Linked DNA regions of Homo sapiens: all the other regions are linked to region 5. Evidence: promoter capture Hi-C in human tissues and cell types (Jung and others, 2019). All regions are on one chromosome and are shown on one strand. Each heading gives the region's core, a stretch centred on a gene start or on the middle of the fragment in contact. The rest is flanking DNA. Distances are from core to core; before and after follow the strand shown.

Region 1 (4,229 bases), core at 462-2,961, 900 kb after region 5:
CAAAGTTATCTCAAAACAGTATGTGACTTTTTAGTGTATGTGCTCCCCCAAAGCATCTGAACTAAAAAACCTGAGTGTTTCTTCTTTTCAGGTCTGAGTTTAAGAGTCAGGTAAATACATCTTGTTAAATATTTCTAAATTATTTTCTCTTGTATGATTTTCCTTTAGAAATTGAATTCTCTCTTTTCTTTGGGTTTTGCTGAAAGGTTCATCGATCATTCAAATAAATTTCACAAAAATATTAGGAGTAGGTACAATGGCTATAATGCATAGTTAACAGAGAGATCATTATGTCTGCCTCTGAGGACCTGGGTGTGGCCTCTGATTTCCCTGGACAGTGTTTTGGGCTTCCAATGAGAAAGTCTCTCAAAGAAGGACACTCTGCAAGTCACGGCCCTAGGGCCGGCCATCACCTAACGTCTTCAGATAAATTGTTTGTTTATGGATTCAAAAGCAAGACAGTTAATGAATGTCATCATTCAGTTTTCAGTTTGAATATTGTATTTTTTATTTATTCAGAACCTAGCATATAATATTTACACAGGATAATATATTTTTTATAAATTTTATTTATATATTTACTATATACTGATTATGTGCTGTGCTATTTGTGATAGAAGGATCCCAAATGAATGCAATGTTGGCTTTTATCCACAAAACACTATCATGATATACACGTAAAATATACATGTGAAAATAACAACATTATAAAATAATAAACCGTATTTAAGAAGCAGAATATTATAAACTTCAGCAGAAGTACAGAAGTGTATATAATATGTTATTTCTACATTTCATTCCCAGAATATTTCTTAAAATACATTCTATTTTAAAGGTAAGGGAACTAAATATTTAAGTGCAAAAAGAAATAGAAAACCATTGTAAATATATAGCTAACTCAGGCCAAAAATGTCTGTTTTACTAGTTCTTTTAAATGATAGGTTAGTCACAAGAAATAAGCATCAGATGAACTGAATCAGTTTCTCATTATTTTCTATTCGACAGGTTAATTTCAGGTTTATACATAAGATGAGCAACTTACCAAGTGCTTCTAATTCTACTTGATAAAATGATACTCCCTAAGCCACCTTGACTGGGTGTGAAAGAGGGCAAATAAAGGCTTAAATACAATATATCTTCCTGATGAGATAACTGCAGACCTATTTGTGGGAGAAAATTGCTGCACATAAGCATTTGTGTTTGTTTTATATTCACTTTAACTGTGAAGAGGGAAATGAAGTTCGAGCGGAAGCCATGAGACTCTATTGTAACAGCTCATGAAAAATTACAGCTCAACATCCAAACATACATCTGTCTGTGTCCCTATGTGAATTAATACAGTATTTTAAGGCCAACAACAAACACAAATAACCAATTCTAAAGCTATGGGAACTACTTTCTGCTGATAACTGCAAAAACACAGAAATAATAACATAAGTCATGGAAAACTATGTAAGACCCAAAAAGATAATGGCTAGATTATTTCAACCAAGGCTTGCTTTGGTATTCATAGAAATAAATCTAAAGCATCTGCTCTAATGTATCATTAAACTTTTATCAGATCATAGTCAGAATGCATGAGGATTAAAACTCCTTTTAGCTGAATAAAGCATGCTAAGATATACATCGTTCGTGTTAAGGTAGTAATCATCTCTTGGCTAATGAGCTTCAATGGACTGATAGGCATTAAGCCTGTTTTGAATGCAAGCACTCATATCTTGACAACAAAAGGGGAATATTTTTATCATTTTGGAAATGCAGTACAAGCATGTAAATAAATATGGGCCATGTTAGCTTTTGTTCGAGTAAGGAATTAAATGTCTTCTGCTTACCATTTAATATGATCTTTGAGTTGTTGTTCAAATGAGCTAGGTGGCTCTTAAGCAACTTCCCTGTGTGTTTTGTCGTGAATGCCACTTATTATTATACCCATAAGCTTCTTTTTTACCAGGGAGTATCCTCCTGTCAAATGACCAGCACTTCCCTACTTATTCTTTCCTTTTGTTAAATTTTTAATCAGCTTTTTAAATTCACACTGAAGTATGAAGAGCTACTTCCATCAACGTGTCATGCCTTCCTGGTGCACGTGGATTTTTTACCAGAAGTGAATGAGAGAAAAGAAGAATTTTTAGATCTCAATTAGAAGAGGTGGCAAAGGTGAAGACAATGGGGCTTTCTGTTTCTACCCCATCCCCTGGCCCTTGCCTGGTTGCTACACTTCTCTCAAGTCCAGCTGGACACACACCTGTAGAGAAAGTTACCTACTCACTTCCCTTTTTGAAAACAGGAAGCCATGAATTTGTCTTTTGTGAAAGCCTGAGTCTCCTTATTGGATATAAATTTTGCCTAGCAGTGATGCCACTCTTGTATTTTTGTTTATGATTATTGGACTTCAGAGCAGTCTCAGTAATCTTTTTGCCCCCTGGAAACTGAAGAAATACTTTAAATGATGCTTGAAAGAGAGGAGAAAACATTATGGATTAGATGGGTGAGGATATTGAAAGACAGTACCTTTAAGAATAACTATTGGGATCAATATAGTATTCATTTAACCTCAATTTTCTTTTTCTTTCTTTTATTTCTTTTTTGTTTTTAAGACAGACTCTTGCTCTGTTCACCAGGCTGGAGTTCAGTGACATGATCATGGCTCACTGCAGGCTCAACTTCTTGGGCTCAAGTGCTCCTCCCTCCTCAGTCCCTGAGTAGCTAGGACTGCAAGTGCATGCTACCATGACTGGCTAATTTTTGTATTTTCTGTAGAGACGGGATTCACCATGTTACCCTGGTTGGTCTTGAACTCCTGCGCACAAGCGATCAGCCAGCGTCGACCTCCCAAAGTGCTGGGATTACAGGCATAAGCCAATGATCCCGGCGTTGTCCTCAAATTTCAATGAGACATTACTTGATTCCTAAAGGCAGATTACCACCGTGGTACTGAGGGATGAATCATGTTTAGAATGAGTCTCCCCTCATCTAAAATTATTTTATTGACTGTCTTCCAGGAGCCTCCAAGTTTGCATCACTAAAAGTACCTGGTTGAGGCTCAGCACAGCACTTTGGGAGTCCTTAATAATGGTTAAATTTATGACATGTAACACAACCATCTTTGACAGTCACTACATGAAGGAGTGATTGAATTGCTTTGTAACCTTAACAGATGGCTGAAAGGAGGGTCTGGGTGACTTTGAAGGAGTATGGGCCAGTACTGAAAAGGGGCAAAAAAAGGGACACAAATCAGATCAAACGTCACCAAGTGGCTACATGAGAGTACTACCTACTTGGTTGAGGGGCTTTCAAGAAGAGAAGAGAGGGCTGACTTAATGACTACTCTGTCTCCAGGACTCTTCTACCTGGATCATTGCAAAAAAGAAAAAATTGGGCTACCATAGCCCCACTCCCATTCAGACAATAGTTTGTTTTACAATAGAGATTGCATCTTAATCCATCTTCAAGCATGAGCACTTACCATACCATGTGACTCATGCCAGTGACACAATCAGTGTTTGTTGAGTGAATGAATGAATACATGAATACAATAATATAATTTTACTTGAAGGAGTCTCTGGCATTCCATTTAGACATTCTAATTTCTTTTAATGTAAACAATAGCATCAGTAGAAATGCTAGGTATTCTTTATAGTTCTATTTAAAAAGAATGGAAAAATACCAGCAGGGATTGGGAGACAAAGCCAGCTGTGACTCTTTGTAGCAAGAGGAAAACATTTTATAGGTATCTCTATCAAGTGATCTTTCATTGGAAGAATAACCTCTGATGGTCAAGGCAACTGGAAGGAAGGGCCAAAAATGCAAAGCATGCAAGGAGATTTAGTAAGCCTCAGGGACACCAGAGCAGCCCTGAAGAGCAGGGGCAGCATTAGCAAACAGCCCCTGTTTTGATATAAGTAATAGATCAATCCAATTTCCAAGTCATCTCCATGTAGTTAACAACAACAATAACAACAATCTGTGTCTAGATGACTTCATGTTCTTTCTGGGGCATGCCAGTATTCAGTGCAGCATCGCTGAGAACAACATACACAACACAATAAATCGATTGAAGTATCCAGAGGGTTGGATTTGGTGAGCTTTTCACAGATTAAGTGTCTCTCCATGAAAGAGACACTTGCAAGTGACAATAGCAGCATTTGCGCAGTTTTCTGGTTTCTGATCTGGAATGTTTCAATGCTTTGGAAATATCACACACCCCAAAATGGACTGTTTTGTGATTC
Region 2 (3,754 bases), core at 337-2,836, 910 kb after region 5:
TACAAAAAATACAAAAAAAAAAAAAAAATAGGTGGGCATGGTGATATGTGCCTGTAGTCCCAGCTACTTGGGAGACTGAGGCAGGAGGATTCCTAGAGCCCAGGAGGTTGAAGCTGCAGTGAGCCGAGATCGCACCCCCCTGCATTCCAGCCGGGGGGACAGAGCCAGACCCTCTCTCAAACAAAACAAAACAAAACAAAACAAAACAAAACAAATAGTAAATATTTGGGTCAAAGTAATAGAATATTTTTCTACTGCTAGAAAGCTGTGAAATATACATGACCTTAGGAAACAAAAGTTCTAATCTTGTCTGGGGCAGTTTAATATAGATAGATAGATGATAGATAGATAGATAGATAGATAGATAGATAGATAGATAGATAGATAGATATAGATAGATAGATAACTGATAGATAAATAGACAGATGTAATGCACATGGCAACTGTAATAAAAAGAGGAGGCCAAATGATTCTATTTGGTTGCAAGTCTGCTATGTTGGGAGGTAAAATAATAACTGAAAGAAAATCGTGACATTAGACAGGTATATTTTTATTTCTTGATCAACCACTTAAAATAGTAAAAAGAGATATAGCTAAAACACAGCACATGTTAAATGAAATATTTAAAAGTATGTATAAAAGCAAAAAAATGAAGGCAAGTATATTACTTGATGTTGACTCTCATAGCAGAATATCACAGACTGGGTGGATTAAACAACAAAAGACATTTAGTTTCTCACTGTTCTGAGGGCCAGAAATCCATAATCCAGATACTAGCAGCTGCGGTTTCTGGCAAGCCTTCTCTTCCTTCCCTGCAGACAGACACCTTCTTGCTGTGTCCTCACATGGCTTCTTCTCTGTGTGTGCACAGAGAGACAGTGCTGGGTTTTTTTTCCTCTTCTTGCATGGATACCAGTCCTATTGGACTAGAGCCTCACCTTTATAAACTAATGTAACTTTAATTATTTCCATAAAGTCCCTAACCTTCAATATAGTAGCAATGGAAATTACAGCCTGAGTATATGAATCTGAGGAAGATTCAAACCTTCAGTCCATGATAATAAGGAAGAACCAGAGAAATAAAAAAATAAAAAATGACAATCAGAAAATAATAAAAATGTTAGAATTAAATCTAACCAAATCAGTGATTACATTAAATTTAAATAATCTAAACACACCAAATCAAAAATAAAGATTGACAAATCGAATTAAAACAAACAAACAAAAAGACTTGACTGTATGGTGGTAAGGTATCTGCAAGAAACCCACTGTAAATATAGTGATATAGATAGGTCTCAGAAATAAATTGGCACCTTTAATGTCAATTCATTTTTGACAAAGGTGCCAAAAACACACAATGGGAAAAGGACAGTATCTTCAATAAACGTTGTTTGAAAAACTGAATATTCACATGCAGAACAATAAAACTAGATCCTTATCTCACACCATATACAAAAATCAACTGAAAATGGATTAAAGATTTTAACATCAAACCTGAAACTAAAACTACTAGAAAAAAACATATTGGAAAAGCTCCATGATATTGGTCTGGGTAGAGATTTTTGAATATGACTCCAAAAGCACAGGCAACAATAGCAAAAATAAACAGATAAAATTACATCAAACTAAAAACTTCTGTACAGTGAAGAAAACAGCAAACAGAATGAAGAGATGACTTATAGAATGAGAGAAAATATTTGCAAACTCTACATGTAACAAGGGTTTAATATCAAAAATATATAAGAAATCCAAACAACTCAAGAGTGGCCCAATTAAAATTGAGCAAAGAACCTGAATATACATTTCTTCAAAGAAGAAATACAAATGGCAAACAGATATATATAAAAAAAAGCTCAACATCACTGATTACTAAAGAAATGCAAAATAAAACCACAAGACATAAAACCTCATACCTGTTTGAATGGTTATTGTCAAAAATACAAAAGATGACAAGTGTTGGCAAAGATATGGAGAAAATGGAACCCTTGTACACTGTTGGTAAGACTGTAAATTAGTACAGCCATTATGGAAAACAGTATGGAGGTTCCAGAAAAAATTAAAAATAGAACTATTATATGATCTAGCAATCCCATTGCTGGGTTTGCATATCCAAAGGAGATGAAATCAATATCTCGAAAATATAGCTGCATTACCATGTCCATTGTGGCAATATTCAGAGTAGCTAAGATACAGAATCAACCTAAGGGTTCATCAACAATAGTTGGATAAAGAAAATGTGTGATATATACACAATGAATATTATTCAGCAGTAAAACAAAGGGAAGCCTTTCATTTTTGCAACATGGAAGAAACTGGAGAACATTATGTTGGATGAAATACTCTGTACTTAAAAGTCACTAAAAGAGTAGATTTTAAATGTTCTCATCATAAAAAATGTTAATTAGCTCAATTTAACCATTCTACCATGAATTCATAGCTCAAAACATCACGTTATAAAACATAAATATATACAACTTTCATTTGTCAATAAAAAAGTAATAAATTTTAAAAATAAATAAAATGAAACTAACAAAAATAAAATATTTAGGTGTTAAAATTATGTGTGGGATTGGTATATTCAGAACAACAAAACACTGATGACAGAATAAATGAAGACCTACCTAAATGGAGAGATATACTATAGATATGAATCTGATGACCTCATTTTAGAAAGTTAATTGGCCCTAAATGGATCTAGATTTAATGCAAATACATTTAATATGATACAAAAACAATTAAAATTCCATCAGGATGCTTTTTAGATATTAAAGAGCTGATCCTCAAATTTATATAAAAAGGGAAATGAAGTAAAGTAGTTAAACTTCTTTTAAAAAAGAAGAACAAATTTGGAGGAACCACTTCACCTGATTTGAAACTTACCATAAATCGACATTATCAAAGAGAGTACTTAAAAAATAGTGGACCTCCAAAAATCCTCTCCTCCAAAATAACAGTAAGATCACTGGCAAAGAAAAAAAAAATCATTGCAATCAGCCTTTTCAGAACTGTAGAAATAAACAAAAGACTTGCAGCATTCTCCAGAGTGTTTATTCCAGAAAAAGGCTGACTCTTCATAAAAGCTTTGTGACATTTAAACTTGCCCTATTCGCATCCTCCTCTCCCTAGTTTCTTGATACTCTTGACAACCAGAAGCATAAGCAGTATGGCAGTTTTAAAAATCAGAAGCCTGGCAGTCTCTGGAAGAGGAAGACCATCTTCGGATTACCCTGAAATTCCCTATTCCAGGAGAATTGAAACCATTTGTCCTGTCTAACAGCAACCAAGAAAAGCATCTTTGTCAGGCCTTATCTTTATTTGACCTCAGAGCTCAGTTAGTGAGAAATGCCCTGTGTTATTTGAAAAAAAAAAAAAAAAAAAAGCAAAAATAAGAATAGTGCCTGAGGTAGCAATGATAATTGAGGCAAATAAGAATCTGTCCAAAAGCCTAAAAAATATATATAGGGAATTAGTTGTACCTTAAGGACTTTGAAAAGCTCTACCTCACCCTTGGAAATCTAGATTGTGCCCCTGTACAGGGCTAAGTGTGTGCCAGGAAAGACCTCAGAACACCTCAACCTCTCACTTCTGGCCGTCCTTGAGACTCCATTCAAACAAGAAATGAAGAGTGAGGCAGATTTGTGAACTGCTGGAAAGTGAAGGCATAACCCAACACATGCACCGAACTTCTCAGTAGAGGGTGAGAGACTTACTGGTTCAAGGAATTTCAGGAAATTTGTGACCTGTCATTAGCTCA
Region 3 (3,779 bases), core at 774-3,273, 840 kb after region 5:
ACTAGGTCCCTCCTACGACATGTGGAGATTATGGGAACTACAATTCAAGATGAGATTTGGGTGGGGACACAGCCAAACCATATGAGGGGTCATTAGGATTTTTACGGATTCCTCATCCAAAGCAAAAAATTCTTGAAATTTCCATACTGGGCAATACACAGTGTGGATGACTTTAGCAGCCACACAGAAAAGACTCCTGGGTCAGACAGAGCAGCTTTTGAAGGCCAACTCCTTCACTTTCTAGTTAAGATCCTACGTATTTCTACTTATAACCTATCCAAGCTCCAGCTTTCTTCTTTGGAAAAGGTAAGTAATTCCACATATGTTTTTGTAATTATTCAATGGACAGATGCACAAATGTACACCTGGCATTAAGCCTTGCAATTGGTAACTCTTGGCTTCTCTTTCATTCTTACTGGACAGGACCACAGGACCAGGCATTTGGACATCTCCTGCAGTAAGATGAATGTGTATTTTGAGACTCTAATTAGGTTGTCTAGTTAGCATCCCAAAGCTTCATATTCTTTCTAACAGCACGTTTTTTAGGTCCTTGTATACAGAAGCTTCCTCAAGGTTTGTTTTCCTAAGAACACATCTCTACTGGAAGTGGGGAAGAGGGTGTAGGAAGGGGCTGTGCATGGGCTGTCTTCCCAGGGTGACCTCTCACCATCACGGGACAATGGAAGCAGCAACGGCTTCCAATGACTGTGGCATTGGCTCCTCTTCCTGTAGGGATGCTTTCAGCCTCTCTTCTTCCCTGAAATACCCTCCACTTGTCCTCTTCAGCAAGGTCATGGGCATAGGGCTTCTCCTTCCTTAAGTCCATGTGGAGGTGGTCCTGTTCCGGGCTCCCCTTCCCTCTCCTCCTCTCCATTTCTCCTCTGCCTGGAGCCTATGCTCCCAACAACAGCCTGGGAGCTGGCGCTACCTCAACTGCACCCTGCAGGCTAGGGGTGGGCATAGCTGGGCCACACTCATTCAGTGGTGGGGACATGAAGCTAGGAAGTCATTGGTTCCCTTTCATCATAAAATTCACTCCTCTTGTACAGGCCCAGTCTAAATGATTTAGGCAGAACACAGGGAGCAATTAAAGGCAAGGAGGCATCAGCTAGGCCTACCTTGATTCTGGGCCCTGCATATCCTGCACACTTAGCTTTGCACAAGCAGCTCAAACTTTATTCTGCTGCACTCTACCCTAGGATCCATTAAATGTGTGTCCTTAGGAAAATCATATGCCAGGAAGCTTCCTATTTGAAAATACTTCAAAACTGTGCTCTTAGAAACAATAAGAAGCTTTGGGACAGATTCTTAAGTGATAACTAGATAATCTAATTAGAATACAAAACCATTCAATAATGAGCAAGTTATTATGACCTCCTTATAGGGTTGTCATGAGGATGCAATGTAATCATATACAAAGCTGAGCAGATGCTGGCACTTCAGGGCAGCTCAAGATGGTCATTTTTGATGCTTTTGCTCTTGTGAAGTGGCTCCACTCACAGTCCTGCAATGCTGAGGCACCCCTCTGGGGTCCTCAGCAATCTCTGTAACTAACAGGCTTCACTTTCTGCTCTTTGGACTCAGGCTACATCAGTAGCCAGTGGCCTTTCTCAACTGCATCCAAACTAGACCCCTTTACTGTGAAACTCAGGGGTCGCACACTCAAACACCTGACCTTTCTCCCCAGGAAGGAGTGACATGTTTTCCCACTGTGGTCACTCAAGTCTCTCCCCCAAGGATCCTCATCTCTCTTTATTCAGCCTCTTCTCTTTCCAGAATATATGGCCGTTTCCTGTTATCTCAATGTGTTCTGTAGAGGTGACAAGTCAGGGGACACAGCTCTCTATTTGTTATCTATAAAATATAATTTGGCATCATGGAATTCTATAAGTAAAATACTAAAAATACAAAAATTAGCCAGGCTTGGTGGCGAGCGCCTGTAATCCCAGCTACTCGGGAGGCTGAGGCAAGAGAATTGTTTGAACCTGGGAGGCAGAGGTTGCAGTGAGCTGAGACTGCACCACTGCACTCCAGCCTGGGTGGCAGAGCAAGACTTCATCTCAATAATAATAATAATAATAATAATAATAATAATAATGAGAATGAAGAAGAAAATAGGGTATTGTCATTATGATACTCTAAATCAGCAGTTCTAAGCAGAAGTAAAGAATGTGTCACTTGTTTTCTTCCATCTCTTACGCTCTGATACCAATTGCTGTCCTTGGACTAAAGTTCTATGAGGATGTTTTCACAGATCAAGAGAGAAATGGGCAAAATAAGAGCAACATTATGACTTTTTTAAAAATAAATTTACAGTTATTGAATTAAACAAACAAACAAAAAAACTGTCTTCAGAAATTATCGCCCTTCCTCCTTCATAGGTATTAAAACATCATTAATTTTTTGAAATAATGGTGTCACAAAATTGTAGTTTTATGCTTTTAATGTTCTTACTTGAAAAAATATTAAATTAATAACACTATATTGTTTTCTCCATAATGTGTTTTTGAAAGTTTTCTTGTCTATTATACACAAAATTTGAATGTAACATCTGCCCGTAAAGTTATATAAATTAGATAAAAATTAAAATAAAAATTAACAAGTAAATCTTTGCAGATATTCTAATACTAACTTATCTGGATCCCTTCTTTTTCCTGGAATATTTTTATCTAAAAAAAAGCCTCAGCTATTTTAACCTATCTGTACAGACATGTGCTCAGTGTATGTAATACAACAAAGAGAGATGGTATCAATAGAAGACTATAAAGTGCTGTGGGTTCATAAAGAAATGGCCAGTAGAAAGCAAGACAATTTCCCATTTTGAAATTGGCAAAATGAAGAAGATGATTATAAGATAGCCTGAGAGAAAACCTTAAAGGCTGGGCTTAGCAAAATGTCACTCCCAAGCTGATGAAAAAACAGAACACCCAATTCTGTTGCCTACTTTGCTGCCTAGGACCTCTGATGAGTCTCAAATAGTTACTGCTGTTTTGAAACAGCCATACCTTGTCTCAAAGAGTTACTGCTGTTTTGAAACAGCCATACCTTTCACATCTTAGTGAATGCCATGCACGTTTCTTAAGTCCGACATTAAACATCAAGGTTGGTAGGATTCATCTCCAAGATATTTCTACAGTCAATGCCTTCCTCCTCTTCCTCACTGCCAGTATTGTTGCCCACTCATAGTGATTTTTTTACTGGTTCTAGCAACTTTCCTACCCTTCCCTCTGCTTCAGAATCCCCTCTTTAGGAGCAGTAAAATGAGACTGAGCTAGACAAAATCCTCCCATCAAAGACTTCCCGCTACACTTAGAGTGGAGTCCTGCCTACCCTCCCCACTTGGTGTGAACTACTCTGCCCTGCAGCTCCTTAACTGCCGGAGCAGATGCTCAAAGGGTGGGAACACCAGCCACAGCTCATGATATGAATGGCTGGTATTCTCACCCTTTGAGCATCTGCTCCTGACCGTCTTGTAGAGTGCACACTGGCTTATTCCCTGCTCTACTACCATTACATCATCTTATTTATTTTCTTTCTAACACTTTGCACACTACCAAGGTTTGATTATTTTTATTGCCTGTTTCCTACAAAAACATATGCTCCCTGAAGTCTGGGAACAACTTTTCCATTTAGACTTACCTTCGTTTCCTTAGCTGGCTAATGGTAGGCTCTCAAGTATTAAATAACCTTGCAATGCTCTACAGTACATTCCACTTCGAAACCTTATGAATACTGCACACTGTAAATCTGGAGCGAGGTGAGACCTGCACATGTGAGGA
Region 4 (4,243 bases), core at 306-2,805, 570 kb before region 5:
TTTGCGTGGTTCTGCTGGGGCAGAGCAACAGCTGGCAGGCTTGGGCCCGAGGACCCCGAGGTCAGCTGCAGAGGTGGGGACAATCACCTCTCGCCTTTCTGAAGCTACGGCCCCAATTCCGACGAGCTGGCTGGAGCCTGAGTGGCTGCCGTGGACACGGATACACAGGAAGCTGGCGCTGGCCTTCCTCGCCGTGCCCCTCGTGTATTTAGGGTGTTTCCCACAGAGAGAGGGGATCACTTCTCCTTTCAAAAGGAGCTACCGTTTAGTAAAGATAATGCAGCACAGAGTTTCTCCGTGACAGTCAAGGTGGTTTTATTTTGAGGAGGGGTCCTCCGTCTATCAAAAGATTGGGAGCAGAAGCAGAACTGAAGAACAACAAATTCCATGTGGATGGCTGTGTCCCTGGCACCTGGTTGTGGGCTGAACTGTGTCCCCTGACTCATAAGTGAAAGCCCTAACCCCAGTGGGGTTTTATTTTGAGATAGGATCTTTAAATAGGTCATAAAGGGTAAATGAGGTCCTAGGAGTGGGGCTCTAATTCTCATAGGACTGCAGTCTTTGGTCAAGAGATCGAGACCATCCTGGCCAACACAGTAAAACCCCCTCTCTACTAACAATAAAAAAAATTGCCGGGTGTGGTGGCACGTGCCTGTAGTCCCAGCTACTCGGGAGGCTGAGGCAGGAGAATTGCTTGAACCCGGGAGGCGGAGGCTGCAGTGAGCCAAGATCGTGCCTCTGCACTCCAGCCTGGGGAGAGAGTGAGACTCTGTCTCAAAAAAAAAAAAAAAAAAAAAAGAGGAAGAGGTTACGCTCTCTGTCTCATCTCTTCCTTGCTGTCTCTCTCCATTTTTGTGTCTCTCTGTCTCTGTCTCTCTGTTATTCTCCCTGTCTCTGTCTCTCTGTTTTTCTCCCTGTCTCTGTCTCTATCTAGCTGTCTCTGTCTCTCTATTTTTGTCTCTGTATTTCTGTCTCTGTGTTCCTCTCTCTGTCTCCTCTCTCTATCTCTGTCTCCTCTCTCTGTCTCTGTCTAGCTGTCTCTATTTTTGTCTATGTATCTCTGTCTGTGTGTTCCTCTCTCTGTCTCCTCTCTCTGTCTCTCTCTCTGTCTCTGTCTAGCTGTCTCTATTTTTATCTCTGTGTCTCTGTCTTTCTGTTTCTGTCTCTGTCTCCATCTTTGTCTCTCTCCAGCTGTGTCTCCATCTCTGTCTCTCTCTGCCATGTGAGCACACAGTGAGAAGGTTGTCATCTGCCAGCCAGGAAGACAGTCATCACCAGAAACCAACCCTAAGGACACCTTGATTTGGACTTCCAGCCTCTAGTGCTGTGAGAAAATGAACCTCTGTCGTTCGAGCCGCCCAGCCTGTGGCATTTCATCATGGCAGCCTCCTGTTCCAGCTCAAAATCAAGCCAATCATTGCAATGTGTGCGTGGGGGTGGTGGGCGGCCTCAGTGAGCTTATTCAACAATTAGTCTGCCTCCCAGGCAGTCGTCTTTACAGTCATCCTCCAGACCCCACTGCCCTTGGACCCCACAAGCCATGCCCACAAATACTTCTCCATTCCTCTGCCTTATTTTCATTCAGGTTCTGCTCTCCGTAGATGACAGCAGCTCTCCTGAGACATCCACGGAAGTGTATGGCTTTGTTCAGGTGCAGTATTGGCAGTAATACTGTTCCCCACCAGGTGCACCACAGGCTGGGCCCACGCCAAGCCCTTTGTGTGCATATCATGCATATTTTCACGAGGGTTTTCTTTGCACCACTGAGAGAAAAGCTTCATTCGACAGACCTTGCACATTTGTATGCGAAGTCCAACTTCTACTGGACTTCTGCTGTTCTTCAAAGCACGCATACACCAGGATCATGCGCTTGGGTGCCCAGGACTTTTTATTTTATCCTCTCATAGATGAGGCTGAGAAGGCACCAGAAACTTGGGGGCCAGCCAGTGGCATGCTATGTTCTCAGTGAAGCTGTTCAAAAACAGTAATTACAGTGCTAGAAATAAATGTATTCATGCAAAATTAAGAAAATATACAGTTTTCCCCTTCCACATTCCCAACATTATAAACAGACACACCAATTGTCTTACGATATAAAAGTCAGAATTAGAAGTATATAAAGTAAATAAAGTAAAAATTCCAACTGCTGCATTCTAGAAACTCTTAGGATGCATGTTTTCAAAAGACAATCAAACACAATCACCAGGAAAAACCTTTGATCTGAGATATGCCACTTTTTTTTTTGGTCTCCAAAGTATACTATTTTCCTCTGATTATGTTAATTAAAGAAGATTACCTTTAATAACATAAAATAGAGATACTTTGGGTCCTATTAACTTGTATTTCAAGCTTGCCTCAAGCACTAAAGAGAAAAAATATCCTGTTTTTCTCATGAAGAGGCATATACAACTTCAGCCTCAAGAATACATTCAGTGTTTGCATTTTATGAAAACACACTTTGGACATGTGTACCATGGATGTGCGGGTATACTGATCTAAAGATGTATTAGTATGGTGTATGAGATCAAGTTTGAGAATATTGCCTTATCAATCAAGCAAAAGCATCTCTAAACCTTTAAATGCTTTCCTGTGGCACAACGCCACCAATGACTATCGTCTCCAAGTGTCTGCAGCACTGCTAACACCAGCCCCTCAAATCGCCTCCTGTTGTATAGCTCACAACATTCTTATTTAGGGTCTTGTTATACAGGTGTAACCTTGGGCTCACACCAGTGATATTGTTTGGGACAGGAGGTGACAGGGCTGACAGCCAGACTTGGGACAGACCTGGGCTTAGATCAATTGATTATTGTTCATGGGAATTTAAACAGTTGTTTTCCCATTTCAAATCTGTTTCCCCATTTGTAAGAAATTATCTCATACAAGTATTGTGAGCATTAAACAGAACAATGTCTGTGACATTGGCACATAGCAAGGCACATAGCAAATGCTTAATAATACCAGCCATTATTATCATTTTAGATTTTTCTGAAGTCACATGGAAGATACCCTATCCACTTAGAAACACAGTTTAAATGCCTTACCAGGGGATCAGCTCTGAGAAGGAAGATGGACTCTGGGGAATGAACTCTTGTCCATCAGGATAAAGCATTCTCAGTCAGGTGTCCAGCATGCCTAGTCAGGTGTGTGGCATACCTGGTCAGGTGTCTACCATACCTAGTTAGGTGTTTACCATACCTGGTCAGGTGTCTACCACACTGAGTTAAGTGTCTACCATACCTGATCAGGTGTCCAGCACATCTGGTCCTGTTTCCTTTAGGAGACCTTTTTTTTTTTTTTTTTTTTTTTTTTTTTTTTTGCAACAGAGTTTCGCTGTTATTACCCAGGCTAGAGTGCAATGGCATGATCTCAGCTCACTGCAACCTCCGCCTCCTGGGTTCAAGCATTTCTCCTGCCTCAGTCTCCCAAGTAGCTGGGATTACAGGTGCCCGCCACCATGCCCAGCTAATTTTTTTGTATTTTTAGTAGAGACGAGGTTTCATCATGTTGGCCAGGCTGGTCTTGAACTCCTGACCTCAGGTGATCCATCTGCCTTGGCCTTCCAAAGTGCTGGGATTACAGGCATGAGCCACTGCGCCTGATTGACATTTCATTTTTGAAGTAAACTTTCAGGCTGATATACCCAGTTTCCTTTTAGTAGTTGCATACAATCTATGAATTCAATAACAATTTTTTTCTTTAATCAGTTTTCTTGTTCCTCAACTCATTTTAAATTTCTAATAGTTGCATGTATGCATTTTTGCTCATTTAAAAGCAGAAGTGCACACTTAGCACCTTTGTTCACAGGCATGTTGTCCACAAGGAAACTTACTCTCACTAAACCCTGCTTTCTGATTTGTTGCTGGTTAGAGTCCCCTCAGGGTTTGCTTATTTGTCACCTGAGTTTTCACTTTTTTCACTAAGATATCTGATTATAATTATACCAACATGAATTCTCCTATTAACTAACAGGTGAATAAAACTTATTGAAAATATTTTAAATAATTTATTGAGCACCTACTGTGTGCCAGGCACTGCACCAAATCTAGTTACACTAAAATAAAAAATTAAAACTAAAAACCTCCAAGTCCTGTCTGGAAGAAATACCCGATTAATGTTGACTAAAATGAAGTGTTTGGATGGTCTGTTTTCACATGTTGCAGGACGCAGGGAAGGGCAAGGACTTTGGGGTGTTTTTCCCTGGCTACTTCTCTTCAGTAATATTTCCTTCTACATCTTTGTT
Region 5 (3,749 bases), core at 685-3,184:
CTAGCCACTGGAAAAGAAAAATGGTAGGAAACATTTTAGGATTAAATTATGTCTGCCCTGATTTTCACGAGGATCAGCTGCCTGCATGTCCATATAAGGTTGTCTATACTACTGGCAATTCTACAGATTTCAGTTTCTACACCAAACGGCTCTGGTGAGCACGTCATTTTTCCGGGCAGGGACCTTCCTGAGCGCAGCCTACCCCAGGGGCTCAGGCTGACTTAGCAGTGTGCCTCTCTCCTGCCACAGGCAATCCCTCCCCCTCCCCAGGCTCGCACACAGCCGGTGGGAGCAAGCACACGGGAGAATCATGCTTTCCCCTTTCCCCCGAAACCAGGCGTCTGAGTTACAATGCACACTACAGCGTTCTGAAGAGAGGCAGCAGCGATGTATTTTATTGATTTAACAAAGAAAAAAGAAAAGCACATTTATGGAGATCTTGTTAAACTTTAATAATCCGGCCAATTTAAAATCTCCATTACGCTGATGAGCACCCGGGACCTGAACGAAGCTCTCGGAGAGTTTAAAAGCCTCCAAAGGCGACCAAGAGCCAGGTCTGGCCGTTTGCCCAAATCCCAAACGCCCGAAGGAAACTACTTAGATCAATTTCAATCACGTCCTAGGGAGCAGCTTCTTTGAGGAGGAAAAAAACAGGAGGGGGAGGGGGAAAAGGCAGGAGAGGACTGTGAACAATTAAGCAGGCGTGTGAAGGTTGCAACACCCTGCATTTCATCTTCCTTAAAGCTTTCGAGGCTTGGAAACCCACAGCCTCTATTTGATCTGGCAATTCACTTTGTGACGAAAAACAAACAGCACAGCAGGGCAGGGAGACAACAGTAAACCCTCCTGCGATCGCTGGAGAGACAATGGGAGGAGTGTCAGTCTCTCTCCCCTCGGGCGATGCTACCTATAAGCACGGGGACCTGGTAAGTTTCTTAAATTTCCAATGCCCCCAAATTCCAGTTCTACGACAATGTCGGAAACCGAGGTCCTTCTTTCCAAACTAAGACTTGAAGCAGTTTGGACGGGCTCATTGTCACAAGACTGACAAGTCACTGGGGTGTACACAGTTTTATTTTTATTTTTCTTGGTCAACAAGAGAAGCAGGGAAGACAAATAAGGCAGATCTAGGGGAAATGTTAGGCATTCCAAAGAGCAGAAAACACATTGGAAATGGTCTACAGTTTAAAAAAGACAAAAATAAAAGAGAGCTGGTCTACGTTCTGGGGGCAAAATGTGATTTTTTTAAAAAACTGTTAAGTACAAGCACCAAGAAACAAAACAAAAACAAAATCCGTTAAAAAAAAACAACAAAAAACAAACAAACAAAAAAAAAACACCTTGGCAGGCAGAGCAAGTTGGTCCCCATGACAAGCTCCAGCTGTGGCGTCTGGAGCGGGGACAGGCTCCGAACTCGTGCCAGGGGCTCGGCCGGGCTGTGCCGGGAGTTGGGGCTTCCCTGGGCGGACGCTGATCGCAGCCTGGAGGATCGATCGGCGGGGGCGCTGCGCCCGCTCCCCCGGTGACAGCGCGGGGCCCAGGCCCAGCGGACCGCAGAGAGCACCGGGTCTGAACCCCAAACAGCCGACCCGGCCCGCGCCCCGGCGCCCGCAGGGAACCGCGGCCGGCTGCGTTTACCTGTTGCCAGTACTCCTCCAGAGACGGCAGCGCCGAGAAGTAGCCGGTCTCGTGCACGATCTGGAGCTCCTGGAAGATGCTGCACATGGGGAGCACGTCCATGTCGGGCCGGGTTGGACGGAGCCCGCGGTCGCGAGGGCGGCGAGGCGCGCGGTGGGAGCCGGAGCCGAAAGTCTCCCCGGAGCGCAGGTGAAAGTTTCATGCAAACTCCAGGCTCGCAGAGACGCCCGGCCGGACCCTCCCGCAGCCCGCAGCGCGCGGAGCCCACACAATATTTGCAAACACCGGACTGACTGCAAACGTAACCCCTGCAAAACTTCCCTATTCAAAGCTCCGCTGCCAGCCTCCCCCTCCGCCCCCGCCTGGCTCCCCCCACTCCCCCTCCCCCCACGTGACTCGCCCCGCGCCCGCCCCGTGCGCGGCCCAATCCCGTGGCTCCCGGCCCGGGGGCTGCGCGCCGATGATGTCAGCTCCGGCCAATCGCAGGCGGCGACACACAGCGGCCCCGCCTGGCGTGACCGAGACTCTCCATCACGGCCCGCACCATTGGCTCAATTCGAACTCTGCTCGTTCTGATTGGAAAGTGGCCTCGCAGGCTATTTTTAGCAGGGTATATAAGGCGCGGGCGGCCGCGCGCCGGAGGAGTCCGCGCTGTGAGGTGCGCGGCCGAGCCCTGCACTGCGCCCGCGGCCGGAGCTAAGGGAGCCGGGGCTGGGAGAGCCGGGGCGGGCCGCGTCGCCTGTCCCCAGTCCCGGTCTCTCTTCCCCGCTGCCCGGTCCCGCCACCCCACGCCCGTCCCGGTCACCAAGCCGGGCCCTGTCGCCGCGCGAGCCCCGGTTCCGGCAGCTCACCCTGCGGGCGGCCGTCCGGTCCCGGGGCCGCCCGGTTCCCCCCCGTCCCCTTCTATGCCCGAGGCCGCCCCGTCCCCAACTGTCCCCTTCTACGCCGGGGGCTTCCCGGTCGCCAACTGTCCCCTTCTATGCCCGGGGCCGCCCCGTCCCCAACTGTCCTCTTCTGCGCCGCTCTGTTTCCCTACATCCCCCTAGTCATCCTCTGTTCTCTAACCTTGGGGTACCCCTCTCTGTCCTCCTCCACCTCCGGGTCCCTCTCTGTCCCCCTCCATCCCTGAGCCCGTCTCCGTCCCCCTCCAGTCCTAGGGTCCCCTCTGTCCTCCGGGCCACCAGAGTGGGGGAGGGGAGCACGCAGGCTCCCCTTGGAATTGGGAGAAACGTGTTTATCTTGTAGAGGGCGATCTTAGCCCTCACCAAGGTTAACAGCTAGGTTTTCCCATGAACGTGTAAACAATTTAGGTGCAAGCCGACATTTAGTGTGTGTGTTTTTTTCCATATAAATTATCTCCTAAAATATACCGTAATGTTCATTTTTAAGAAAAATGTCGAGACTCGAACCAGAGCATTTTAAAATCCAAAATGGAAAACTGAATTGTAACTGTATTATAGTTTTTGTTTCAAAATAGTTTAATGAACATTAAACATTTTGAAAGAATGGACTATGTAAAAAAAAATTAGAGGGTTTTGTATGTTAAGTTTTAGAGGGTCCGGCAGAAGCATGTGGCTGTAAGACTAGGTGGGGACCTTAGTGAGTCTGGAGTGGAGAAAGGAGGTTTGTCTTGTACCTGCGGTATGTGGGCGGTGAAGGTTATGCAGAGTGAATTGACAGTGTTCTTGGCTCGTGTTCATCACATTTACCCCAGCAACTGAGAGCCAGGACCAGCCCTTCTTGGGGACCTGCACCTTAACTCTGTTTCCAGGAATGCAAATGGCTTTGTTTTGAACCATCCACAGATTTGCCCAAGCGCCCATTGACCGGGGCCCAGTGACTGGCAGCCGAGAGCATCTGGGCAGCCGTTGTGTTGGGGGCAGGGTTCTCTCAGTAATTAGCGCTTGTGACCTTGGCCCCGCTAGTTCCTAAGTAAGCAGGAGTGTGGAGCAAGTCCCCCGCTGAGGGCCAGGCACGCTGGATCAGGGGGAGCCCGAGATGAAGGGGGAAGGCTCTGTCTGGGCCAGGGAGGACAGGACGGCTGTCTTTGCAAGGCGTGTGGGCGTCCTGGTGAGGGTGTCCCATTTTATCTTTGGGACAATTAATTATTG
Region 6 (4,351 bases), core at 1,231-3,730, 650 kb after region 5:
GCATTTCCATTTCAATAAGTGTCTCCATCCACTCACTGACACATTGTTTTAGATTGTATAACCTCAACCTTGGAAGTCAAATGCAAGCATCATCACTCCTCTTAGTTCTGTTTATGAGACTTAGAACAGTATATAGAGGAAAAAATATGTTGGGCTTACAGAACTTATTTTTCACAAAGCTGTGGTACACATATTTGCTGCAGATAGGAGAGCAAAATCCATGCAGACTAGTTCTTGAGTTTCACTCAACATGGAGTTCACATACATGCAAGTAAAAACACGAGTATTACTAAAAAATATCAATTTACACATGCCAGAAAACTGGGAAACACTGTTTAACAAAGGAAGCACAATTATACTCCTTATATCAGGCTCAAAACTATTTACTTCTGATTAGTTTTTGAATGTATACTGTTTCTTGGACTTGAATAAAATAAGCATGCTGTCTTGGTTGCAGTGTTCATAGTATCCTAATATCAGGGAATGAGGACAAATGAAGAAGTTGAGGAAACCATGAACATTTCCACCCATGAATAAAATCACTGATTTGACTGGCCATAGGTCTTTTATTTACGTTTGTTTTTTCACAGTATTTTGATTTTTCATGGTCAGGTTGGCCTCAAAGCCCTCCCACTAATTAAGGCTGATTTGAAGGAATGAACCATTCCCAGTTAACCTGTGGCCCCTTAGTAATTAGCTCAGTACCTAGCAGCCAAGACGTATTCAATAAGTACATGCTGATTCCATGAACAAAACAGAACCTTAATTCTTTTAAAATGACTTTTTCTAAAACAATGGTTAGGGCCTCCATATTACAAGAAAATTTTTATCTTTTTTATTGTAAAGCATATCCTATAACATGTACACGTGATATGTGAACTCTGTTCATTTATTTATAAGCATCAGAGTTTTGAAAAGCCTGCTTTTAGAGTTTCAAAACATCTTCAGCCAGACTTCCTTTGGCACACAACCTTGGTGTCTGCGTTTGGATGCGGTCCTTCAATTTCTCCACACACCCTCAAAACAGCAGAGCCCTCAGCTCATTGCTGCTTCAATCAGCTGCCTGTGTCGCAGAAGCTGAGCCGGCACACACGGTGGACGCTGGCAGATAAAACACGAAATTGCTAAAGGAGCCATGACAGATGGGAGAAATACCTCTAAACCCAAATCATGAGGGTTATCAGAGCATGACACACCAACAGGAACCAAGCACCAAGAATGCAGTAGCTATAAAATCTCAGTCCGCTCATTGCAAGCCAGGTAGACATATATTTCAGTCCATAAGTAAAACTGTTAAATTAATACGAAGCAAAGATGAGACACAGTTAGCAGAATTATCTTGAATTTATTAAACTTATGTTTAAGGAATGGATGAATGAATTCAAAAAGGCATGAGATATCAGAAAAAAAAATTGAGTCCTGTCATATAAGCATTTAATATATACCCAGCATGTAGAATGTAATACTATCTATGCGAAGTGTTATTATGTGATCACTTTTAATCTTTTCTGTAACTAAAAAGTCTGTAACCTTGCATGAAAATGATACAGACAATATTAGAATAACACATATCCTGCTGGCAGGGAGAGACACTTGGAGCTCACAACCACCCCTAAACCATCACTCAAAATCTTATTGTTATCCTAAAGGCAGAGTGGCTTCAATGTCCAATTATCCACATGTAAAATTATCTCATTCCCTCTCCAGTTCAAACTTTGATGTGCCAAAAGAATTCTCCACAGAGTGCAATACTCTAAATGTGGTATATTGATGATGTTGTAGGGGCTATTTATGGTTTTGTAAAGGGTTATTTTTACTCTCAACCATCTTCTACCCATGTGCTGACCTTAAAATGTAACCTTTTTTAAAAGATAGAAAATAATTGTGTTTTTAAAAAGGCCCAATCACGCCATCAACAATGAAAGTCACAAGAATGAAAGTCAACTATTTTTGATTGCTTAATTGACTTTTTATTTCATTTAATTAATTTTGTTAGAAATGTGTCCAACTATAATTTGTACATGATCATAAAATGGGTAATTGATAATACTCTTATAACTTAATTTTGACAAACATACATTGGAGTTGGTAAGCTTATCTCCTATGGAATTGTAGAATTATATCTCTTAATATAATTTTGATACAGTGTTTATACATAGCATATAAAGCATTCTACATAAGTTGCATAGTTTTTAGTTGTTTCATGTGTAAATAAGAGTAAAAATACTTATATCACAGAAAGTTGTGAGACTCAAATAAGAAAAAAATTACAACTAGATGCATATGTTCGAAAACTTTGATATCCCACTCCCTTGCTTTTTTTAGTTGAGGGATGTGTATTGAGAGTCTGTGCAGACTAACTCATTCTAGAATAGCATAACGTGAAAAGACAACAAAAAAGTAGCTTTTCTAATAACAACTACTATCAATAGAATGCTTACATTTTTAACCAGTCACTGTTCCAAATGTTTTACATTAAATTGCCTTTTTAACCCTCAAAGTATCTCCATGAAATCGGTGTTAATCCTGTCCTCATTTCACAGCGCAGGCAAAGGAGGTGCCAAGAAGAGAAAAGGTGAGCCCACAGTTACAGAGCTGGTGAGCTGCAGAAGGTGGATTCCCACCTAGGATCATGGATGCAGAGCCCACGCTCCTCGCTGCGATGTTATGCTGCCTTCGTGTCCAAGATAAGTAAAATAATCTCTGTTTCAAAATGTTGAAAAGAGTTACAAGTCTCAGAATCAATGTTCCCTTCCCCATAGTCCACCATTCCATCATGATCCCTTTTGTAGTAAACCGTGTAGCATGACTCACAGTTACAATCATGCCATAGATTCAGCAAGATCAAAGCATTGCAGGAATTCTGAAGCTCCGCAGAAATGTAATCCCTTCCGAGAGAGATGGCCGTAGCTGGACCAGACATTCAAGCAATCCTGCTGTGAAAAAATGACAAATGATTACTTTGGACATGGGGGGAAATACCTTTAGCTCAGTCTAGGCTTCCCAAGTATAGACAGAGTATAGATTAAACCTCCAAGTCTATCCCACACTCTATACAAGGGAAAGGCTTATACCTTCGGCTTTTCCACTTAGACAAGATGAAGAGCTAAGTTAATACAGCTGGAAGTTAAGCCATTTGTTCCAGATGGTGCAGATATTTCAAACTCGGTGTTCCTAAGGCGATGGTAACACACGGAATTTTATTCTGGTAGAAGCAATAATGTGTGTGAGAGTGTGATGTTTACTCGTCTGGTATATGAACAAAAAGCACATCTATTTAAGTAAATATCTGTGTTCACAAAGCAGAATACAGAAATGGGGTAATTACCTGCATAGTCAAGCTTAAAAAATATGCCTTTGACTCAAAAATCTGATGATTTTGAGCTCATTTTTTGCTTTAATAATCTGTTTAATTGCTTTACTTATGGATTTCACTTCTATGTAGAAAAAGCCTTAAGAAACAATTTGCTTGCAGGCACATCTTGGAGATATTGCAGGTTCGTTTCTAGGTCATTATAATAAATATTGCAAAGAAGTTAGTAACACAATTTTTTTGATTTTACGAGTACATACAAAACTTATTTTTTTACACTATACTGTGGCCTAAGTTTGCAATCGCATTATGGCCAAAAAAAAAAAAAAAAAAAAAAAAAAAAAAAAAAAAAAAAAAAAGTGCATACCTTAACTTAAAAATACTTTATTGCTGAAAAATGTTAACAAATATCTGAACCTTCAGTGAGTCATAATTTTTTGCTGATGAAGGGTCTTGCCTCAATGCTGATGGCTGCTGAAGGTTGGAGTAGCTGTGACAATTTCTTAAATAAGACAACAATGAAGTTTGCTGGCTCAATGGACACTTCCTGTCATGAAAGATTTCTCTGTAGCAGAAGATGCTGCTTGATAGCATTTACCCACGGTAGAGCCTCTTTCAAAATTGGAGTGAAGCCTCTCCAGTCCTGGGGCTGCATTATCAATTAAGTTTATAGAATATTCAAAATCCTTTGCTGTCATTTCAACAATGTGCACGGCATCTTTACCAGGAGAAGTTTTCATCTCAAGTGAGTTTCTTTACTCAGCCATAAAAAGCCGCTCCTCATCCATTCAAGTTTTCTCCTGAGAGAGCAGCAATCCAGTTACATCCTCAGCCTCCACTTGTGATTCCAATCCTCTTGCTATTTCCACCACATCTGCAGTTACTTCTTCCACTGGAGTCTTGAACCCTTCAAAGTCACCCATGAGGGTTGTAATCAACTTCTTTCAAATGTCCGTTAATGTTGATATATTGATCTTCCCCCACCAATCAGAATTTTCTCAATTTCTCATGCAGAATGGTAAATCCTTTCCAGGTTTT
Region 7 (3,727 bases), core at 1,105-3,604, 570 kb after region 5:
AGGCAACCGCTAATCTACTTGCTGACTCCAATAGTTTTGCCTGCTCTGGACATTTCATATAAATGGAATCATATAACGTGGTCTTTTGTGTTTGACTTCCTTTACTTAGTATAATATTTTAGAGAGTCGTCCATGTTGTAGCATGTATTCGTTTTTTGTTCCTTTATATGGTTGAATAATATTTCATTATATCAACGTATCACATTTTATGTATCCATTCATTAGTGGATACACATTTGGCTTGTTCATATCTTTTGGCTATTATTAACAATGCTGCTAAGAACATTTTTGCATGAGTTTTTGTGTAGACAAGTGTTTTCATTTATCTTGGCTACATACCTGGGAGTGAAATTGCTGGGTCATATGGTACCGCTTTATTTAATTTTTTGAGAAACTGCTGGACTGTTTTCCGAAGTTACTGCACCATTTCACATTCCCAACAGCAGTATATGAGGATACCAATTGCTCCACATCTTCACCAACACTTGTTATTATCTAATTACTTCTGTTTTCTTGCACAAGAATGTGAATGTACTTAACACTGTGCACTTAAAAATGTTCGAATTTATGTTATGTATATGGAATTTTCTTGTTTTTTAATTTTTTTAAATTTCAATAGGTTTTTAGGGAGCAGGGGGTGTTTGGTTACATGAATACGTTCTTTAGTGGTGATTTCTGAGATTTTAGCACTCCCGTCACCTGAGCAGTGTACTGTGTACCCAATGTGTAGTCTTTTATTCCTCACCCCCCTCCCACCCTTTCCCGTCAGTCCCCAAAGTCCAATATATCATTCTTATGCCTTTGTTTCCTCATAGCTTAATGCCCACTTAAGAGTGAGAATATACGATGTTTGGTTTCCTATTCCTGAGTTACTTCACTTAGAATAATGGTCTCCAATCCTACCCAGGTTGCTGTGAATGCTATTACTTTGTTTCTTTTTACGGCTGAGTAGTATTCCATGGTATAAATATATACCACCTTTTCTTTTTTCCCTTGTTGATTGATGGGCATTATCCTGTAATATATTTTAACAGACATAATCCCTAAGTTTTTATCACTTTTCCCAAACTTCTAGTGATTTATGATTACTCACTTTAATAATTCCCAAAGAGAGAGCTTGTGATTAAAAAATCAAATACTGGATTACAAATTGTGGTTGAAAGAATATTTAGGTACAAATTTAGGACTTGAAAATTGTTTTAGTTTTGTCATTAGCTAAGTTGCATGGTCTTCGAAGACGAATTTCGCTTTTCTAGACTTTGTTTTTATCTGCAAAGGAAGGTTTGAAACAGGTGAACTTCAATTATTCATTTAGTTGTAAATATTCATGATATGTGATTGCTCAAGACTGCAATCAACTGTGAGAGGTGGTAACTCCCAGGGCTTTAGCTAGGGTATATCACAGATACTTCCCTGATTTCTAGTGCCAGACACCAGGTAACTACTCACTCATTTTCCATTCACTCCGGAAAAATGGCAGAACCATATTTCTTAGGGTTTCTTGCAGTTAAATGGTAATGTGACATATATCTACCCTATAAAATGAGAACTGAAGTGGCACTCGCCATTTTCAGGCATAAAACTCTGTCATGTACAATTCCCAATGCTATCTTCTTCTTCACCACCTTCATGCACAGGAGCATGGCAGCCTTGGAAGTGTTGAAGCTGGTGGAACCATAGGATGTAAGGACCCAGGTCTCTGAGTCACTTCCTTAAAAAGAGCCATCCATTGACTAGGAACACCAATTTCTGCACATTCTTTGAACGATAAATAGACCTCCATCACCTTGGAATGAGAAACAGACCTCATTTTTTTTCCGAGCCATTGTATAGTTGAATGGATGCTTGTCATAGCAACTGACATTACCCTGGCTATTGGATTCTACTTCCAAAAAACTGCATGGATTAGGCTTGACTCAATTAAAATGACTTCAAGTCAGTCAGCCAGATAACAAGATATATGGAAATCTACATATTTCACTCACACAATGCTAAATAACTTGTTTGGCAATTTTATCCTTGTTGGAGTTAATGGTTGAACCTGAAAATGGTTGATTTTCTTATTAGTTCCTGGTTTGGTTTCTCTATCTTAATCTTGTGTTTTGAGGCTGTCATGTAACTACCACATAAATTATCTCTGAACATACGTTTTTGTATCAGTTTGTTTTATTAACATATCCCCTTAGTTCACTATTCAGAAAGCTGTCCCTTGGCCTGTGTCTTAGAGACAGCCTGAGATTTGATTTGCATCCTTGCATTTTAGTGCCTTTGCACAGTCAGAGAAGAAATAAAATCAATTCAAGCTTTGGAGGTACAGAACATGCTACCCCAAAATATGCCACTTTGGCATAAGGATTCTTTTGGGCTAAAGACAATTGAGAATATGCTAATACAAGAAAATCTTTCAAACCCTTCCCATATGCCTAAGGCAGGGCATCATTTGTAAAGGTGTCTCCCTTTCTCTCTACCCAGAAGGACAGGAGTTAATCACCGAAAAAACTCTAGCCCCTTATCATCCTGTAGGGTCCACAGAAGTTGACCTAACAAACCTCACTCACTAGCCCTTGCCTTGTAGCCTCATATGTTTACTATCTCCCAGTTTGCTGCTCTGGAAACTAAATGTCCGTTTTCTTTCTCTTGCCATCACTGTAATAATTAATTGTTCTTTTGTTAAGATGCTATAGAAGCCCAAGTTCAAACCACCCAGTAGAGTGACTCATCACTGGGTTTTCTTATGTGTATGTAGGATGTGAGTGTTAGTAAACTCCTGATTGTTTTTGTCTTGTTAATCTATGTTTTATCAGTCTAGTTTGCAGGGTCTCAATCAGTGAACTTAAGATTGGCGTAAGAAAAATACATTTTTTCCTCTGCTACAATGTCTTCGGGAGGAGGCACATTATTCTGCCTACCACATACAGCTACCCTATAAGGCTGAGTGGTTGTTTCTAATTCATGTAGTCATCAATTTATCCACACAATAAATATTCACTAAGCACATGCTCTCTTTCAGGCACTGTGCAGACTCTGGGCTTAGAGAGCTGAGCAAGACAGTGGAGTCCCTCTGGAGACCCAGAGACAAGAGGAAAGCAAAGACCAGCTATGAAAGCACATCCAAAGGCCTGAGCATTCCCAGGGATGATCTGCAGAGGACCTGGACATGGTTGATGCAAATCTTGGTGGACACTATAGGATGTGTTAGGTTCAGGCCCACAGGACAGGATCAGAGTTCACAGCACAAAGACCCTGTTCTCTGCCAGGGTCTGAGCACTTTCAGGGAACACTTCCCAGAGTTTTCCACTCACAGAGCCTGGTGAGTAGCTTTGCTAAACATCAAGAAATCATCCTGGGGATTGAATTAAAAGGTTGGCAAGCCGAGAAGTCTTGGGATCCTCTGGACTAGGATACCCCTTTCAAGAGGGGAGATAAGTTATCAGGCTTTCAGGCTCTTGATAAATGTCTTACAGATGGGTGATTATGAAATGGCTGTGTTGTCACTTTACAGACCTGCGTTCCTGCCGAATGCACACAGACTTGGATCCTCTGAAAGTCTGTTGAGGTTAGCACTACCTCCCGCGTAGATGCTCTTTAACACAGTGTGACTATTGCAGGTCTTGCAGGTCGGCTGCCTCTGGGGAGGGGTAAAATGTGCTTCGTGCCAATCACTAAGTGGTGTTCAGGAGGAAAAGAGCTGGAGGAAAAGCAGAGGAAAGGACAAGTTATGATGGAG

The links. The method cuts DNA at HindIII sites, captures the fragments that hold promoters and counts their contacts. A contact is called where the count stands out against the background at its distance.
Region 1: a contact is called between a fragment that was not itself captured here and the fragment with the promoter of KLF6 in region 5, in 2 of the 25 tissues and cell types used here (dorsolateral prefrontal cortex and heart right ventricle).
Region 2: a fragment that was not itself captured here is called in contact with the fragment with the promoter of KLF6 in region 5 in 1 of the 25 tissues and cell types used here (dorsolateral prefrontal cortex).
Region 3: a fragment that was not itself captured here is called in contact with the fragment with the promoter of KLF6 in region 5 in 2 of the 25 tissues and cell types used here (heart left ventricle and stomach).
Region 4: a contact is called between a fragment that was not itself captured here and the fragment with the promoter of KLF6 in region 5, in 2 of the 25 tissues and cell types used here (H1 embryonic stem cells and dorsolateral prefrontal cortex).
Region 6: a contact is called between a fragment that was not itself captured here and the fragment with the promoter of KLF6 in region 5, in 1 of the 25 tissues and cell types used here (IMR-90 fibroblasts).
Region 7: a contact is called between a fragment that was not itself captured here and the fragment with the promoter of KLF6 in region 5, in 1 of the 25 tissues and cell types used here (IMR-90 fibroblasts).

What each region holds. Positions count from the first base shown.
Region 1 is chr10:4,681,100-4,685,328 of GRCh38, forward strand. All of the region lies in intron 3 of LOC105376373 (a long non-coding RNA gene), which reads left to right. Among named protein-coding and RNA genes, the nearest start is that of MANCR, 5.1 kb to the left of the region's middle. The HindIII fragment of the contact is 6,523 bases long and covers 1-4,229 here.
Region 2 is chr10:4,697,462-4,701,215 of GRCh38, forward strand. No RefSeq gene overlaps it. Among named protein-coding and RNA genes, the nearest start is that of MANCR, 21 kb to the left of the region's middle. The HindIII fragment of the contact is 6,880 bases long and covers 1-3,754 here.
Region 3 is chr10:4,627,631-4,631,409 of GRCh38, forward strand. No RefSeq gene overlaps it. Among named protein-coding and RNA genes, the nearest start is that of LINC00705, 27 kb to the right of the region's middle. The HindIII fragment of the contact is 4,312 bases long and covers 1-3,779 here.
Region 4 is chr10:3,208,768-3,213,010 of GRCh38, forward strand. No RefSeq gene overlaps it. Among named protein-coding and RNA genes, the nearest start is that of PITRM1, 38 kb to the left of the region's middle. The HindIII fragment of the contact is 4,743 bases long and covers 1-3,927 here.
Region 5 is chr10:3,783,275-3,787,023 of GRCh38, forward strand. KLF6 (KLF transcription factor 6) reads right to left here and starts at 1,935. Exons shown (of 4, transcript NM_001300.6): 1 at 1,639-1,935. The coding sequence starts at 1,740. RefSeq lists enhancers at 63-132, 201-756, 757-1,313, 1,314-1,869, silencers at 1,475-2,074, 2,325-2,604, 2,785-2,844 and a promoter at 1,736-2,673. The HindIII fragment of the contact is 14,996 bases long and covers 1-3,749 here.
Region 6 is chr10:4,428,722-4,433,072 of GRCh38, forward strand. No RefSeq gene overlaps it. Among named protein-coding and RNA genes, the nearest start is that of LINC00703, 47 kb to the left of the region's middle. RefSeq lists an enhancer at 2,239-3,438. The HindIII fragment of the contact is 5,254 bases long and covers 1-4,351 here.
Region 7 is chr10:4,349,224-4,352,950 of GRCh38, forward strand. No RefSeq gene overlaps it. Among named protein-coding and RNA genes, the nearest start is that of LINC00703, 33 kb to the right of the region's middle. RefSeq lists a silencer at 2,434-2,728. The HindIII fragment of the contact is 6,417 bases long and covers 1-3,727 here.